4 separate regions of the Homo sapiens genome follow, and all the other regions are linked to region 2. Evidence: promoter capture Hi-C in 16 types of primary human blood cells and fetal thymus (Javierre and others, 2016). All regions are on one chromosome and are shown on one strand. The core of a region is centred on a gene start or on the middle of the fragment in contact, and the rest is flanking DNA. Distances in the headings are between cores, read along the strand shown. Region 1 overlaps BRPF3-AS1 (BRPF3 antisense RNA 1). Region 2 holds the start of SLC26A8 (solute carrier family 26 member 8). Region 3 overlaps BRPF3 (bromodomain and PHD finger containing 3). Region 4 holds the start of CLPSL2 (colipase like 2).

Region 1 (2,700 bases), core at 166-2,665, 170 kb before region 2:
TAATGGGATTTGACTATCATCTCTCTCCTGATTTCTTGAAGAGTCAGATCTTACAGTAAAATACAGGTTTTGGTTTGGTGTCATGGAACCTCTCAGCATGAATGACTCCATTTGGGGTCTGCTGTCTTTTCTTTAACACATGGAATGCCATAAGATTGTTTCAGGAAACAGTGGGTTACCCATTGACCCAAAAATGAGGGATATGAGAGAGAAGGCTGGTAAGGTAAAGTCAGAGCATGGAGACTGTTGGTTGGGTAGGGAGCTAGACATGAAGGGGCAGGAGACCCTGATGATTTTTGGAACAGGGAAATGACTTCAATAGTTCCATGCTTTAAGTTCTAGTCAGGCAAGAGAGTGTGATACGGTATGGTTTAAATTAGCTATCCAGTGTGGCTTGCATTATCTTCTGAACTTGAATTCTAGCTAGAACATTTTACCATATACTCAGTGGAATGCTAAACCAAGCAAGCATGAAAGCAAGTAGTATGTGACAAGTATAAATTGTTCAACTTGATCTAATGTCTTATCTTTTCAACCTTTAATTAGGATTTCTATTAAATCCTAAACTCTTAACTGTGAGTGAAGCCAGGACACTATAAAATATAATTCCATATTTTAGCAGAAGTACCAACCCTAAAAGTAGCCATCTTCTTGGCATAATTTTACTAAAGGGAGAGAAAATACACAAAAATAATAGCACATACTAAACTAGAACCTGCATTTTGACAAGATTTCCATAAGTAATTTATATGCATATTAAAGTTGAGAAACAGTGAATTAGAGGATTTTAGAGAATTCCAGGATTAAAATACTCTGAGAAAAAGGTAAAGTTAAAGGATTAATATTAGCTTTTGATTACTCCAGAATACCTATAATAATAAAATACATGTTTCCATTTATATGAAATTCTGGAAAATGCAAACTGCTCTATAATGATAGCAGATTGGTGGCTTCCTGGATGTGAAGGGGAGGAGGGACTATAAAGGGCATGAGGAAACTTTTTGGAGTGATAGAAACATTCTGTAAGTTGATGGCAGTGGTGGAGAAACAGGTATATATACATTTGCCAAAACTTAAACTGTACAGAGTAGCTGTCTTTTATTTTACATAAATTTTACCACAATTAAGTTGATAAAGCATACCTGTTGCAATTTTTAGACTAATCATTAACATTAAAAGAATGAAAAAATGAGGATGTAACTCACAAACTAGTACAGAGTAAAAAAAGAATAAAAAATTCGACCAACCTAAAAGAAGTCAAGGAAAGAAAAGGAAATATAGTAAAGGTGAAACAAATAGAAAACAATGAAATGATGGCAAATTTAAATTCAATTTACAATTTACATTGTACATTGTAGAAAGAGTAGTCCACAATGAGTGGGACATTTCTGGAAAAGTTTAATGATTGCATGGTTAAAATAATGTCTGGCTTGACAACATGCATTGGTCCCCACTCCCTCCCCTAACTTCAATAATGTTAGTAAAGGATAAAAAAATCCACAAGACAATGAAATCCACAAGAACAAAGAGAATGAGGGAAAACAACAGCAGGTGAGATTTACTATCTCAAGAAATTGAACTAAAGAAGTTCTAGACTTGGGGCCACCAGGAACCAATGAAGACAGCGATGAAGTGTCATACTGAAAACGGAAATTAAAGGGAATCTCTGCATACTAAATAATAAGATGCTCCCCCGAGCCCCAATCATCACCATCACATGTTCTTCCCTAGACTGATGAGGGAGGGGAAATCTGGTACAAATTGCTGGAATCTGGTGGTGCAGAAGGGGGCTAAGAGAAAATTTCATGAAAACATTTCTAGTCAGTCCATCCTTTTAGTTGAAATAAATGTTTCATAGATCAAAATTCTTAGTGGTCCTGCCTCTTCCCCCAATCACATTGCAAAACACTGGAAGCCAGGTTTATTTTAGAATTTTGCTAGTGTTTGTTTTTGTTTTTTGAGATGAGGTCTTGCTCTGTTGCACAGGCTGGAATGCAGTGGTGTGATCACAGCTCACTGCAGCCTCAACCTCCCAAGCTCAAGCGATCCTCCCACCTCAGCCTCCTGAGTAGCTGGGACTACAGGGACACAGCATCATGCCTCGATAATTTTTTTTAAGAGACAGGGTCTCACTTTGTTGCCTAGGCCGGTCTTGAACTCCTGTGCTCAAGCAGTGCTCCCAACTTGGCCTTCTAATGTGCTGGGTTCGTAGACGTGAGCCACCACCCGCAGCCAGAACCTTGCTACTTAGATTATTGTTCAAGAACCGATAGTATTGACATCTCCTGGGAGTTGGTTAAACATGTGGAATTTTAGGCCCCACTCTAGACCTACCAAACCAGAATCTGCTTTTTAAGATCTCCCTACATGTTTCATATGCATATTAAGATTTGAGAAGCAATGGATTACAGAATGTTAGAGAATACCATGATTCCTCTCTGAAGATGGAGAAAAGACCTATTTATGAATACTGGCGATGGAACATCTTCACTAAAACATCCAGCTTGTCACCTTTTGCCTTATGCTGAAGCTCACCTGGTATCAAGCATTCCCCACCCCTACCCCAACACACATAGAGTTTTAAACAGCTTTAAAAAAAACTACCTCTTAACATTGAATAAACAACCAAAAACCAACAGATATATGAAGAAAGTATCATGAAGGTCAGAATCCAAGAAAAAAGAATGGGGAAAACAATAT
Region 2 (2,700 bases), core at 65-2,564:
CAACATCTAGCACAATGTCTAGAACATAAAACATGTGTCATAAATATTTGTTGAAAAAATTATGAACAGTGACCATGATTTCAAGTGGTACAGTATCCTCAGTCCTCTTCAAGGAAAGCAATATAAAACCAAAAAACAGATAGTCATGGGTGATTCATGGAAAGCTGTTTTGGATCCAATGTAGCTTAGGCTGGAATTCTCTTATCTACAAAAACATGTTGCTTGAGAATGTTCCAAACTAGGGAGGATAGGAAGCTTTCTAAGAAGTAATGGAGGGTGAAGGGGAAGTAAGAGCAAAAACATGATTGTGAAGACATGAGGGATGGGGTTGGGGGGATCAAGGGAATGAGGGAATGGTTACAAAGGGTGAGGAGGAAGCTTGGAAGTAGGAATCCTCAGAAATGCACATTTTTATCCTACAAATTGGGATGATGAGGTGAGGGTGAATGAAAGGGTAAAGATAAAGTAAGCAGTATATTCATACACTCATTCAACCAATGTGTATTAAATGCCTACTAGGTGTCAAACACTTGCAGTTTAAAAGTGATTAAAAACTACAGTTGCTGCCGGTGTGGAGCTTACAATCAATGGGAGGGCAATCATTCAACAAAAATTAATTGAATACTTCCTATGTCCACCACACTGCTGTAGGCACTGATAATAAAACAGTTAATGAAAGGGATAAAAGTCCTTGCCCTCATAGGGGTAAGATGATTTACAAAAAGGAATACATAAAGTGCATTATAAGGTAGACATTAACACAGTCATCAAACAAACAAGTGTAAAACTGTAACTGGGCCAAGCAGGAATACAAGGTGGAGTGAGAGACAGTGCTAGGGACAGGGATAGGGTGGGAGGAGGGTAAAGGGAGTGAGTGCAGATGGCATGTCTGCATCCAGAGCAGATCTGGGCAGGAGGGTGTCATTCAGTGGGGAGAGCCGGGTTTGTGGGGCAGACAGCCTATGGTTGGAGACCTGGGTGACCCTCCTAGCCTCCATTTCTTTTTACCTCTTCTGACCTGAGGAAGGCTTAAGTCTTCCGGAGACGTTAGTGAATTACCGTCTGTGCAGTACACATGTGACACATGTGCACTGCTGTATGTTCAGGACACGAGGCCTGGCACCAAATAGGCCCTCGATCAAGAATAGCAAAACCTCGGAGAGAGAAGGAGCCTTGGTATACAGGTTTACCAAATACCAAGGGGATCCCACGACTCAGGTATGAGGAGGGCGACCCAGGTACCACTTTCCTGGCTCCCTAGCCCAGCTGCTCATGCTCCTCTTCCTCGTCCCCTCCCCCACTCTCATCTCCTCAGCCCGCCCGGAACGCCCGCGGGCTAGGCCACAACGGCTCGGGAACCGCCGCCGGTATCCGCGTCCGCAGCGCCGCCAGCCAGGCGAGAGCCGTGTGGGATCCCAGCGCCCGCACTCCCGCCCCCGCCAAGGAGCCAGGTGAGCCGCTGCTGGGAGACGCCTGGGCGCCGGGGGCTGCAGGTCCCAGGGCGGGGGCTGCGTCCGTCACCGGCAGGTACCCAGGTATGCCGCAGAGCCAGGCACGCCGTGGGCACTCAGTCAGTATCTGTGGAATGAATGAATGATGGTCGTCCCTGGGAGCTTATCTCTGAGGTATTGTCTCTACTTTCAAAGGCCGTGTGGATGGCAATGACAAGAGACAACAGTGTGTGCGTTTTGCAAGCTGCATCCTTTCAAATTCTCCTGTCTATATTGTCAAAAGCCCCAGAACTGACGTGCTACCTGCACCCCACCGCCTACCCCATCCATTTCCTCCTGAGGCCTGACTGCCCGGCCGTTCCTCTTCCTTTCAGACCCCACTGCTTTTGTTAATTTTGTTCCCTGTGACTGAATCCCCACCCCCACCTCCTTGCCCCTTTCTTTTCATGTCAAATGCCGTTGATGTGTCAGGGGCCCCGTGAAGCCTTCTCCAGCACCCCCACCCCAATAATGAGCATCTCTCCAACACACCATGTTACTCTATCCACATTGCATGGAAGGTGGTTGTCCTATGTTTATGTGTCCAATGGTCATCCGCTTAAGGACTGTCATCTTACTAGTCATCCCTAGCCACTAGCCAGAGTGACTAAAGGATCTAAAGGCCAGGCTCTTTGCTTATACCTTTTCTGTATTCCCAATACATTCTCCATAAAAACCTAGGTAGTAACAGGTGTAGGGTTGTTTCTGATGGAATTACAAATGCTTATTTTGAAAATTCGGAAGTAAATTTTGCCTTTCCGTGATTATAGAAAACATAAGAAAGTTAACAATATCAGGGGGAAGATATTCCTGCAACTAAACTAGCTTTCAAGATTTCATATTATTTGGGTCAATAGCTAAAAAATTGGATTGTATTTAAACTTTTTATTCTTGACTTTTTTTTTTTTTTTTTTTTTTGAGACAGAGTCTTGCTCTGTCGCCCAGGCTGGAATGCAGTGGTTTGATCTCGGTTCACTGCAACCTCTGCCTCCTAGGTTCAAGCGATTCTCCTGCCTCACCCTCCTGAGTAGCCAGGACTACAGGCACGCCATCATGCTCGGCTAATTTTTGTATTTTTATTAGAGACGGGGTTTCACCATGTTGGCCAGGCTGGTCTTGAACTCCTGACCTCAGCTGATCCAACCGCCTTGGCCTTCCAAAGTGCTGGGATTACAGGCATGAGCCACTGAGCCATGTCTGGCCTATTCTT
Region 3 (2,700 bases), core at 14-2,513, 180 kb before region 2:
CTTCCCAGGAGAAGCGGTAAAAGTCTTCCAATTTGGGTGACTCGGGCAGGTGAGTGCCCCTCTCGGGGTCATAGCCGATGTTCTCTGCCTGCCGCCGGGCGTGCCGTAGGATGGCCCCTCCCAGGTCCCGCAGGCGGACAGCTGCTCGGTGGAAAATTGTGTCTTTAGCATTATACTTCATGCAGTTGGTAACTATAAGGTTAAAGTCCTCCTCAAACTCCTCCAAGGTGCGGTACAGGTGGGACTCCAGCTTCCGCCTCATAGTAGAAAAATCCATTGGCTTGGATATGAATTCCAGGTAATCTGGAACCTAAACATATAAAACCTGTACAATTACAACAACCATTTACTAGCCAAACAGACACACCCTTCACCAATACTCTTGGCCTCCTCAATTTCTGATTTGGCCATGCCAGGCTAACTCAAAGACCTACAGTCCTGGCCCACCCTGGCCTGCTGACCCCTCATCAAGGGCAAGTCTACTAGCTTTGCCAGACCCACCCTCCTACCCCTGGTTTTGTACACCCTGTGGCCCAACTCCTTCCTAGCCTACTCAGACCCTGTTCCAGTTCAAGAAGAATTTACTACTTGGAAAGTAGGGGGAACTTGCCTCACTCAAGTTGACTGGTTCTGCGAAGATGTGTGCAGGATCCTTCTCCTGCAGCAGGTCCAGTGTTGTCCTCAACAGAACATTGAATGGCATCAGCTCCAGCTCCATGGCAGCCTGCTGGACTTTGACCTGTGGGGAAGGTGGGGTGAGATCAGATCAGAACATCCCCTGCAAAGATGTACTGAAACTTTTTCTTGATAGTTTGACTTTTACCAATCTTGTACAACAAATTTTCATAGAATATTAAGCTGACCAGTATATGAGAAGCTATCACCCAACCTTTAGCCTAGGAATAATGACACCAACAGCTACTATTTTATTATTGTTTCCTATGTACCAAACATCATACTAAAATTTACAGTAACAATAATAATTATCATTACAATTATAATCATTAACACTTCTATAGCCCTTACTAAATGCCAGGTAATGTTCTAAGCATTTTATGTAAAATAAATGAGTATATGAGGTAGGAACAGATGAGGTATTTTACAAAGAGGAAACCAAGTAACTAAGGAACTAGGAGGAAACTAGAGGAAACTAAGTAACTGGCCTAAAGTCATAGCTAATAAGGAGCAGAGTTGGGATTCAGTCCCAGTGATTCTACAGTGAGTGCTCTTGGCCATTATGCCACACTAACTCTGTACTTGTATTACCTCAATTAATCATCACGATAACCCTGAAACAGAAATTATTATCCCCATTTTACAAATATGGATCAGAACAAGGATCACCAAGGACTAAAAGAAAAAAAATACAAATTAAAAAAATGTATATGGAATCTGAGGTTTAGAGACAGCATGATGAAGGAGTTACTAGTCTAAGGTCATCTGTCTAGAAAAGAATAGAGATAGGATTTGAACCCAGGTCTGACTTAGTCCAAGGGACACAATGATGATGTAAAATGTGCTTGAACCAGAATTTCCCAGTGTGCTGAGATACTGATTCCATCAGCCCTTGGAGCATCTGGGTCAGCATGGGGTCACCAGGGCCTCCAGGCTTGCCCCCGCAAGTGGCAAGTAGCTTCATATACTTACAGTAGTATGCTGTACAAATGCTATTTTCTACATATGCCCTAATGTGAAAAGTTGGGAAGCCACAAATTAAGACTATAGAAAATTTCCACCTTTTGGCTATATCAAAACAGGCCTGCCTACTTCCCCAGGACCAGGCCTTCTTCTCTCTCTCATTTCTCTGAACCAGAGATGAGATGAGAAGTTCAGCTGTGGGATCATGCCTGGGACAGCACAGACATTTTGAACCCTTGAAGAAGGTCCTGAGATGTCCTCCATGGCCATCCATGGTAAATATGGCATGAGCTGCCCAGGCTATGAGGAGGAAACTCAGGCTACTGGCCTGCTAGAAAAGGGGTTGTGCTAAGGCTGACCACTGAATTAGAATTTGGAGAAAGAGAAAGAAACATCTTTTTTTTTTCCCCTTTTTGTGGAGAACAGGTCTTGCTTTGTTGCCCTGGCTCATCTCAAACTCCTGGACTCAACCTATCCTCCTGCCTCTGCTTCCCTAAATGCAGGGATTACAGGCATGAGCCACTGTGCCCGGCAAGAAAGGAACATCTTTAACCCTGGCCTCTGAAGCATGTGAGTGACAGCTGCTATTCCTAGACCAGAGAGAACAGTTTTGGCTTTTCATCCACTTAATTAACAGTATTTGCTCTCTGCCATGTGCAGTAGACACTTCAGAGAAGCAAAGAGTATTGATAATAATAATAATGACAGCAGCTGACATTTCTCTGGCTGTTACTATGTGCCAGGCACTGTTCTAAGCTCTTTACATGATGAAGTCATCTAATCCTCAAAACAACCTTATGATGTAGGCTCTATAATTACCCCCATATTCCAGGTGAGAAAACCAATGTATTAAGCGATTAAAGAATTTGCTTAATGTCATACAGGTAGTCTGTAGAAGAGGCAGGATTTCAACCCAGGCAGTCTGGTGCCATAGCTCATGTTCCTAAACACTATGCTACACTACCTACCTCAACATTTCCTATGCTCAAGGGCTTAAAATCTCCTAGAACAGAGGAGAAACAGAAAATGTAAATGATTCAGGACCATAAGTGTTTAAGAGTC
Region 4 (2,700 bases), core at 186-2,685, 250 kb after region 2:
AGTGAGCCGAGATCATGCCATTGCACTCTAGCCTGGGTGACAGAGCGAGACTCCATCTCGAAACAAACAAACAAACAACAATAAGCATTTATTGAGCACCTACTATGTGCAGATACTAAGCTGGGGGTAGGTGCTTCATAGATGAATATGATGCGATCCCTGCCCTTGAAGAGTTCCAACCACTGGGAGAGGCAGAGAAAAGACATGGCCAGTTAGGGAGATACATGGTCTGCTGAGGGTCTGACCCCAGGGTACAGGAGCTCCAAGGAGGGAAGCCTTCTCAGAGGAGGTGGCTGGAGTTGTTTTGCACCATGAGTAGGAGTTTGCCAAGTGGAGAAGAAGAAGGGCACTCCAGACAGAGGTGAAAAAACAGGTGGGGCCAGGTGTTTTTTTTTTAACCTCCCTGCCCGCTTCTCTACTTGCCAGAAGTTGCCCCATACTAGGGCCTCACCTGGGGCAAGCAGATCATGGTTATTCTGGCCCTGGGGGCACAGAAGGCTCCACCGGAGTCCAAGTCCATGAGGCAGCAGCCACTGTAGCACTCAGAGTGGTGGAAGCACCTGTCTGTGATTTTCTGTGGGGACAGGCAGAATGTCTGCCAGGCTGGGAGCAATCCCTGAGTCGTGTGGGCGGGTAGGGGAGGGTTCCCACCATTGCCAAAGAGCCCAGGGATCCAGGAGAAGTCATGAGGTTGTCACCCCTTGGGGGGCTGGTTCCCCCCCCAGCCCCACCCCGGCCCCTCAGCAGGACCCAGGGCAGCAGAGAGGAGGAGAGGGGGATTAGCACTTTTCCCTCGGCCTCTCCTTTCCTGGACCCCCCTCACCTCCATGAGTCCCATGGGGTGTGTACTCTTAAGTCCCATTTTGCGGGGCAGGGTTGGGGGATGAGAATGAAGGGGCTGCGGGCTCGAAAAAGAGGGAGAGAAAGAGGAGAAAAGGGGAGAGCCCTCGTGCCTGGAAGAATCACTAGACAGTGAGAGGAGGTGGAAGAAGAGGAGGAGAAACCAGAGCATGCAGGGTGGGTTTGCCTGTGAGCAGTTTGGGGAGGGAAGCGAGCCCAGGACTGAGGCCATCGGAAGGGGCACGGGCGGGGGAGGTGGAGGGAGCGAGGGTGCTGGTCATAGGCCAATTTCTCTCCCCTCTGAGGCCACCAGGGGAAAGTGAAGCGGCTTTTGAAGTCCGTCTGAGGATGCCCCAGGCTACCCGCCTGGGTGTGGTTCCGGACCCACCTCTCCCTTTCAGGCTGCCCGGCGCCTTCGGGCTCCAGTGCCCCGGCGGCGGGGCCACCCTCTCCTGCGGTCGCGGCCGGCTGGGCGCGCTCCCCGGCTCACCTTTTTATATTGCGGAAGCGCGCTCCAGAGGGGCAGCACCGCCCCCGACAGGACCCCCGCCACGAGCGCCAGGGCTGCGGCCATGGGCCTGGGCGGCAGAGCAGCGGCGGGGTTCCGAGGGGCCGCGGGATAAAACCTCTTCCCCGGCCACGTGACCCGGCGCCCCAGGCCACCCCGGCGGAGGAGGGACGTGGAGGGCGAGGACGCCTGCGGAAGGGAAGGAGGGAGGAAAGGCGCTCAGGCTCGCACGGGCGGGATTCCAGACTGTAGGGGCCCTGGGAGCCTCCATACGTGTTACTTCCAAGTAGAAGCTTGAAACTGTAAGATAAAACTCTATTTTTATTGTAAGATAAAACTCTATTTTATTGTATTTATTTATTTTACAGACGGAGTCTCGCACTGTCGCCCAGTGCAGTGGCGTGATCTCGGCTCACTGCCATCTCCGCCTCCCAGGTTCAAGTGATCCTCCTGCCTCAGCCTCCCGAGTAGCTGGGACTACAGGTGTGCGCCACCACGCCGGGATAATTTTAAAAATTTCTGTAGAGACGGGGGTCTCCCCATGTCGCCCAGGCTGGTCTCTAACTCCTGGCCTCAAGTGATGGTCCTGCTTCAGCCTCCCAAAGTGCTGGGATTACAGGTGTGAGCCACCGCACCTGGCCTCAAAACTTTATTTTTATAAACGGCACAAAACATATATGCTGAAATAAAAAGAGCTTCCTTCCTGATGTTGATTCTCTGTCTGCCCTTGCAGCCCCAGATTCTCCCCTTACCTTCGGGATAATCCAGCCCCACCCTCTGGGCTGCTCACACCCGCTGCAGGCCCCATTCTCCTCTTCTGTAAGAACCAGGAGGTGGGACAAGATGGTCTCTAAGTCTTAAATCTCTTGCAGTCTTAATCATTCTATTAATTGTCTAAGGATTTGTCTGTGAATTGTGTGAAAGTCAAGATGTGGGGGCAAAATGGAGAAGTGGGAAGAGAAGAAAACTCAGAATAGGGAGGAGGGTTAAGGGAGAGCTAGAGCTGCACAGAGCAATCCTGGAACCGGGGGAGGCAGGCCTTCCTCAGGACTTCCCTATGGATGAAGCTTCCACCTCACCCCACCTGCCTGCTTCTGCTTTTTTTTAATTTCTATTTTTTTTTAATTTTGTATTGTTAATATTTGTTATAGAGACAGGTTGTCCTTATGTTGTCCAGGCTGGTCTTGAACTCATGGGCTCAAGAGATTCTCCTGCCTCGGCCTCCCAAAGTGGTGGGATTACAGACGTGAGCCACCACTCCCAGCCTGCTTCTGCTTTTGAAGTTTCGCTTAAGAAATGAACCGAGGAATCCTGTCTTGGTGGGGAATAACAGCCAAGAATAACAGCCCCCA

The links. The method cuts DNA at HindIII sites, captures the fragments that hold promoters and counts their contacts. A CHiCAGO score of 5 or more calls a contact.
Region 1: a fragment that was not itself captured here is called in contact with the fragment with the promoter of SLC26A8 in region 2 in 1 of 17 cell types (neutrophils); the score reaches 5.3 in neutrophils.
Region 3: a contact is called between a fragment that was not itself captured here and the fragment with the promoter of SLC26A8 in region 2, in 3 of 17 cell types (naive CD4 T cells, naive B cells and total CD8 T cells). The highest score is 5.7, in naive CD4 T cells.
Region 4: a contact is called between the fragment with the promoter of CLPSL2 here and the fragment with the promoter of SLC26A8 in region 2, in 15 of 17 cell types (activated CD4 T cells, M0 macrophages, endothelial precursors and 12 more). The highest score is 13.3, in activated CD4 T cells.

The regions. Positions count from the first base shown.
Region 1 is chr6:36,189,086-36,191,785 of GRCh38, reverse strand. The region is part of intron 1 of BRPF3-AS1 (BRPF3 antisense RNA 1); the gene reads left to right. Among named protein-coding and RNA genes, the nearest start is that of BRPF3, 6.3 kb to the left of the region's middle. The HindIII fragment of the contact is 8,919 bases long and covers 1-2,700 here.
Region 2 is chr6:36,023,255-36,025,954 of GRCh38, reverse strand. SLC26A8 (solute carrier family 26 member 8) reads left to right here and starts at 1,314. Exons shown (of 20, transcript NM_052961.4): 1 at 1,314-1,451. RefSeq lists enhancers at 868-1,367, 1,368-1,869. The HindIII fragment of the contact is 10,062 bases long and covers 381-2,700 here.
Region 3 is chr6:36,207,826-36,210,525 of GRCh38, reverse strand. It overlaps BRPF3 (bromodomain and PHD finger containing 3), which reads right to left. Exons shown (of 13, transcript NM_015695.3): 5 at 611-739; 6 at 1-310. Among named protein-coding and RNA genes, the nearest start is that of BRPF3-AS1, 12 kb to the right of the region's middle. The HindIII fragment of the contact is 3,023 bases long and covers 1-2,700 here.
Region 4 is chr6:35,775,333-35,778,032 of GRCh38, reverse strand. CLPSL2 (colipase like 2) reads right to left here and starts at 1,435. Exons shown (of 3, transcript NM_207409.4): 1 at 1,331-1,435; 2 at 452-574. The coding sequence starts at 1,414. RefSeq lists a silencer at 1,325-1,454. The HindIII fragment of the contact is 8,503 bases long and covers 1-1,643 here.